Linked DNA regions of Homo sapiens: region 1 is linked to region 2. Evidence: promoter capture Hi-C in human tissues and cell types (Jung and others, 2019). All regions are on one chromosome and are shown on one strand. Each heading gives the region's core, a stretch centred on a gene start or on the middle of the fragment in contact. The rest is flanking DNA. Distances are from core to core; before and after follow the strand shown. Region 1 overlaps DOP1B (DOP1 leucine zipper like protein B). Region 2 holds the start of CHAF1B (chromatin assembly factor 1 subunit B).

What was found. Contacts are between HindIII fragments. The study calls those that stand out against the background at their distance.
Region 1: a contact is called between a fragment that was not itself captured here and the fragment with the promoter of CHAF1B in region 2, in 4 of the 25 tissues and cell types used here (H1 embryonic stem cells, dorsolateral prefrontal cortex, spleen and 1 more).

Annotation. Positions count from the first base shown.
Region 1 is chr21:36,263,038-36,266,269 of GRCh38, reverse strand. DOP1B (DOP1 leucine zipper like protein B) reads right to left here. Exons shown (of 37, transcript NM_001320714.2): 25 at 2,620-2,724; 26 at 2,456-2,522. Among named protein-coding and RNA genes, the nearest start is that of MORC3, 56 kb to the left of the region's middle. The HindIII fragment of the contact is 7,013 bases long and covers 1-3,232 here.
Region 2 is chr21:36,383,786-36,386,996 of GRCh38, reverse strand. It overlaps CHAF1B (chromatin assembly factor 1 subunit B), which reads right to left and starts at 1,605. Exons shown (of 14, transcript NM_005441.3): 1 at 1,546-1,605; 2 at 735-937. The coding sequence starts at 860. RefSeq lists enhancers at 153-652, 653-1,154 and silencers at 1,274-1,373, 1,404-1,773. The HindIII fragment of the contact is 18,705 bases long and covers 1-3,211 here.

The sequences.
Region 1 (3,232 bases), core at 259-2,758, 120 kb after region 2:
GGGAGGCGGAGGTTGCAGTGAGCTGAGATCGTGCCATTGCACTCCAGCTTGGGCAACAAGAGCAAGACTCTGTCTCAAAAAAATAAATAAATAAATAAAATAAACTGTTCAATGTGTTCCCTGAGTTCCATCAGCCACTCCAGCTAATTAACAGAACCCAAGGGGTGGGTAGTGAGAACCCCAGTTTAGAGCTGGTCTGTCAAAAGCACAGATGAAACCACTTGGGGCTTGTGATTGGCATCTGAGGGGGTGGGGCAGTCTTGTGGGACTGAGCCCTCAACCTGCAGGATCTCAAGCTATCTCTAGGTGGGGAATGCCAGAATTGAATGGAATTGGACGGTGCCTATCTAGTGTCCACTGCAGAACTACTAGCTTGGTTGCTGGTGGGAAGCAATTCCCACACATTTTGGTTACGAGGTCACAGAAGGATTCTATGTTACGAGAGTGTGGTAGGAAAATCACACTTTGTTTTTTTCTATATCCTCAGTGGGGAAGAAGCATAGGGTGTCGCTCAAAACAGTAGGAAGGAATTAGTGGCGGGGAGGCCAGGTGTCATGAGACAGAAAGAAGCAGATGCCACCTGGTCCCCGCAACCAAAAGGAGCAGAGAAGAGGCATGCCAGCTGCAACAACGGAGGGAATGCCTGTGGCCAGAGCCCTGTCCAGGCTGGCTGAAGACAGAGGGGCCTGCTACAGGCAACAGGCCACGAAAGCAGGGAGGGCTTAGGTGAGCAAGTGCTATCCCAGCACCTGGACGTGCAGCATCGGCATTGTAACGTTTTCTTCTCTGGCTACAAGTCAAGGCCAAAGGAGGAGGCACTGGAATTTTCTAATTATGCTTTATGGTGTTTTTGTTTTTTTGTTTTTTGTTTTTGAGACGAAGTTTCACGCTTGTTGCCCAGGCTGGAGTACGGTGGTGAGATCTCGGCTCACTGTAACCTCTGCCTCCCAGGTTCAAGCGATTCTCCTGCCTCAGCCTCCTGAGTAGCTGGGATTATAGGCATCCGCCACCAGGCATGGCTAATTTTTGTATTTTCAGTAGAGGTGGGGTTTCACCATGTTGGCCAGGCTGGTCTTGAACCCCTGACCTCAGGTGATCCGCCCACCTTGGCCTCCCAAAGTGCTGGGATTGCAGGCGTGAGCCACCGCACACGGCCTACTGCACTTTATACAGTACTCTTGTGGTTCAGAACTGTGGACCTGAGGCTGTTTCTGGATATACCTTTCACAAATGCCAGGGATCATAAAGATTAGCAGTAGTATCGCCAAGGCTATAAATGTGATAGAAAAGCCAACTGAATCAATGTCTATAATGGTTTGCAAAACAGTGATTTTTCCAACTTCATCATAACTTCCGTATTTATTAGTTGGCATTCCACTCTGAGTTTTCCTTCTCCTATGATGAGTTTTATTTTTCAGTATTAAACAAATTGTTATGAGCATATATTACTGTTATAATGGGGGATAAGGCGTTTAAGGAAAGAAATCCATGTATGGAGGCTGGGTGTGGTAGCTCACGTCTGTAATCCCAGCACTTTGGGAGGCCAAGGTAGGAGGATCACCTGAGGTCAGGAGTCTGAGACCAGACCAGCCAACATGGAGAAAGCCCGCCTCTACTAAAAATACAAAAAATTAGCCGGGCGTGGTGGCATGTCTGTAATCTCAGCTACTTGGGAGACTGAGGCAGAAGAATCGCTTGAACCCCAGAGGTGGAGGTTTCAGTGAGCTGAGACCGTGCCACTGCACTCTAGCCTGGGTGATGGAGTGAGATTCTGTCCAACCCCCTGGCCCAAAAAAAAAAAAAAGAAAAAAAGAAATATCCATGTATGGAGATAGCTTCCTTTTTTAAAAAATTTTTTTGAGACAGGATCTCTCTCTGTTGCCAGGCTGAAGTGCAGTGGTGTGATCACAGCTCACTACAGCCTCAACCTCCCAGGCTCAAGGGATCCTTAGCCTCCCAAGTAGCTGGGACTATAGGTGTAGCTATCACACTAGGCTAATTTTTGTACTTTTGTAGAGATGAGGTCTCACTATGTTACCCAGATTGGTCTCAAACTCCTGAGCTTAAGCAATCTGCCCGCCTCAGCCTCCCAAAGTACTGGGATTACAAGTATGCGCCACCGCGTCTGGGGGGAAATAAGATTTCTTATTCCATTTATGTTTTACAGTGAGATCCACATACATCTGCATACAGTGTGGAGGGTGAGGGGTGCAGCTGTCAATTCCACAATCGATTGCTCAAGCATTACACAAGAACCTTCATCAGAAAACCCGGGCCCCGGGACTGTCCGAACTCTCTAGAGACAGTGATGGCAGAAGTAAGACTTGAGAACAAGTGCAAAGCTAACCTCAGATTCTGTCCAATGTCTCTTGTCTACCTGCTATCTGATATCCCCCAAAGGAGGACAGCACTGCTGGGGTAATATCATTTGGCTGAACCTCTTTCATATACAAACCTGCAGGTCTTTTTGGTCCTTCTTGTTTTCCAGGTTGGGAGTTCTTGTTACAAAGTCATTCAGCATGCTGTTGGGAGACAATCAGCTTCAGATTAAAAATGCTGCAGAAATAAAATATGTGCCAAGAGAAAATATTACACAATGACAATGTGGTGACATGATACCTGAGAAGCAGAAAATACCCAGGTGGGGCTAGATTCAACTGTACAGACTCTTTCAATACTCCCAACAGTGAAGAAAAGTTCTCTTGCAAGGCTGGTACTGGGAGCCTGTTTTTTTAAAAGATAGGAAAAATACTCAACCACGAACAAGTCAAAATACATTTATTTATAAGCATATTTAAGATCCTGGCAGTTGGAAAGCAAAGGGTAAACAGCATACCTCACTGACCTTTTTCTTTTTAAAAACTTACAATGTACATGAGCTAAACTTTGGTATTCTGGCAAACACTTGGAGTTTGAGAACCTGAAATCCTACTGCTGGCAGGTGAGATACTCCTGGTTTCTTTGTCTCTAAAATAAAAGCCTTAAATTAGATGATCGACCTTGACCTCTCAGGCCTTTTTTTTTTTTTTTTTGGTGAGACGGAGATTTACTTTTGTTGCCCAGGCTGGAGTGCAATGGCGTGATCTCGGCTCACTGCATCCTTCGCCTCCCAGGTTCAAGCGATTCTCCTGCCTCAGCCTCCCGAATAGCTGGGATTACAGGCATGTGCCACCACGCTCGGCTAATTTTGTATTTTTAGTAGCGACGGGGTTTCACCGTGTTGCCCAGGCTG
Region 2 (3,211 bases), core at 356-2,855:
CAGGCCTGTAATCCCAGCACTTTGGGAGGCCAAGGTGGGTGGATCACCTGAGGTCAGGAGTTTGAGACCAGCCTGGCCAACATGGTAAAACCCCATCTCTACTAAAAATACAAAAATTAGCCAGGTGTGGTGATGAGCGGCTGTAGTCCCAGTTATTTGGGAGGCTGAGGCAGGAGAATAGCTTGAACCTGGGAGACAGAGGTTGCAGTAAGTCGAGATTGCACCACTGCACTCCCACCTGGGCAACAGAGCAAGACTCCGTCTCAAAAAAAAAAAAAAGAAAGCAGCTCTCTTTTGCTTTCATTGTTCACCGCAGGCCCTGGAAATTTAGCATTCTGGGCTAGATGACAAAGTAGTTTAGTTTGTTGACATACGTTAATTCATTCATTCATTTACTTAAGAGAAGGGTCTGGCTCTGTCACCCAGGCTGGAGTGCAGTGGAGTGATCGTTGCTTGCTTCAAACTCCTAGGCTCAAGCGATCCTCTCACTTCAACTTCCCAAGTAGCTGGGCCTACAGCTGCACACTGCCACGTCCCGCTACTTTTTCATGTCTGGCTGTTGCCCAGGCTGGTGTCGAACTCCTGGACTCAAGCGATCCTCTCACCTCAGCCTCCCAAAGCACTGGGATTACAGGCGTAAGCCACCGCGCCCAGCCGACACTGGTTTTAAGTAAAAGAATGAAAACTATTGCTTCAAGCAGTGTTCCCGGATGTCTATCTCTGCCCCAGTTTACCCTGACATTGGTGTCCACGCCGGCAGACGCCAGTCTGTGGATCCTCCCAGCCGTCCCATGCTGGAAGTCCAGGCTGTACACGGGCTCCTTGTTGTGCCAGGCTATTTCACAAGTGATGACTTTCATCCTCCTGAGTCTCGAAGGGGAAAAACGTTTCTCGGGCACCGTTCTACTTCTTCAAGACAGGAGAAAGCTGCAAAATGCTGGTGATGGATTAAACAACAGTGTTAACAGCAGCAAAGGGTTATTGAGCGCTGAATAGGGGCCAGGAGCCATTTAAAATGCACACTGCATTGGGAAAGGATGTTAACGTTGCCATCTGACAATAACACCTTGCTAGCTCCACCTAAAATGCTTCGCTGGGTCCTGACATCCACAAGTTTATGATACGCCGCTACATCCAGAAAAGCAAAACGAAACACCCAGGTAAAGGCTACCTAGGGGCCCCGGCCGTCTGCACGGCCTGTCCCCGCTTAGTAGGGGCTAGGGGCGCGCCCTGAGAGCCCGGGGAGGGGCCCGCCCCGGGAGGAGCCTCCCGGAAGAGGGGGCCAAACGGGGTAGGGGACCGGGGCGGCGGGGCGAGAGGAGAACCCCGCCTTTCCCAGGGACCGGGCGCTGGGCCCGGGAAGCTGGGACTGAGGCCGCCGGGAGGAGGCCGCGCGGGGCCGGGGGTGGACGGGGCCCCGCCGCCCCAACGCGCGCCGCTCCGGAGCTATCCCGGGGCCCAGGGGCCCGCCCTCGGCGAGGGCCTCTGGCCCGGACCGACGCGACCAAAAGAGCCGCGGAGCTGCCCGGGCCAGGGAAGCCGTACCTGGAGGGACCCGGACAGTCAGAGGCACCGTCACCTCCCGCGCAGCGCGCGCCGCTTCCCGCGCGCCGCAGGCCCCGCCCCCGCATGGGCGGGACCTCATAGACGCCCCGCCCCTCCAGCGGCCCTCAGGTCCCGCCCGACGTGGGCGGTACCCCAGGGAAGCCCCGCCCACTCATAGACGCCAAGGCGAGTCCTGCTCTGGCCCTGGGGTCGGAATCCCGGCCGGAATTTATGCCTGCCAGACCCACGACCGAAGGAAGAATGGATTCATTATTATTTATTATTATTATCCATTACTTATTCCTTGTTGATTCGCTCTTTTAGCAAAGGTTTACAGAGCCTGGGCTGTGTGTTAGACAGACCCTATGCTGGCGCTGGGCACTTGGAGGGCTAACACAACCGGTTCTCTTGCCCCTTCTGCAAACAAAAACTGAGATTTTTGGGTTTTCTGTATTGGCTTCTAGAACATTTTGGAGAGTTCAAAGCTATGAAATTGTTCAGTACCTAGCGCAAGGTTGCTTACATTTTATTATTATAGTAGATGCAGTTATAAACCCTTTTTAAGAACAGACTAACATTTTAAAGTGAGGCTGTAAATCAGTCGGTAGGCAGAGATAGATACCTCAGGCTTTTCGAAATGGGACGTTTCCAAATGAGACCTAATTTATCTGTGGGCTTCGCAGAAGGCCAGGAAACAAGTACCTCTGGATGCGCTGCTTTTACTGGATAAAAGAAACACACAGGGTTATCTGAGGAGCCAACTGCTCTAGGATTTTTGGAAAAAAAGAACAGACATGGATTCTTATATAAATACCGGCTGATGCTTTTAGCCAGCTTTATGAAAGGTACAGAAATTGCCTACAAATCCGTGTCTCATGTTGATGAGAATGGCTGTATGCTCCTTGAAGCCTGATTTCTACAGGAAGCTAGAATAACATAATCCGGATATGCAGTTTTTAGATTTTTCTCTTCAGGATTTACAGAGCTTGGACTGGGAATGACTATATACTTTAGATAATATGGCTGTTCTAAAAGTACAGATTCCTGGCCCTACTCAGCCCCATGATTCCGAATATCCAGCAGAGGCCCGTGCTCCAGGGGCTTGCATTTTCATAAACTCCCCGGTGGGTGTGATCATCAGTCTGTTTTGGAAAGCTCTGGATTCTTCGTGTCTCTCAAACATAAAATTTCTCCAAATTTCTCATAAATGCTGTTCATTCACAAATGAATAATCTGCCCACCTCTTGAAGTGTCACGACTCTGAACTGTGGATTTAAAAGATAAAAACACATGCTTTAAGTATTAAAAGTACATGAAGGAGTTGGCTTTCTTGGCGAACATTTTAGAGATCCGACTTCAGTGCCAACTTGATGAGCCAACACGGGCAGGGGATGCGGCTCTAGAGAGAGGCCCTGGGCTGTCAAATATTTTCTCAAAAAAAAAAAAAAAAGTATTTGTTCAAAACCTCAAAGTTTGCACCACAAATGTTGGACTAAAGAATTCCTGCCGGTCGCGGTAGCTCACGCCTGTAATCCCAGCACTTTAGGAGGCCGAGGTGGGCGGATCATGAGGTCAGGAGATCGAGGCCATCCTGGCTAACATGGTGAAACCCCATCTCTACAAAAATTACAAAAAATTAGTCGGGCGTGGCGGCGGGCGCCTGTAG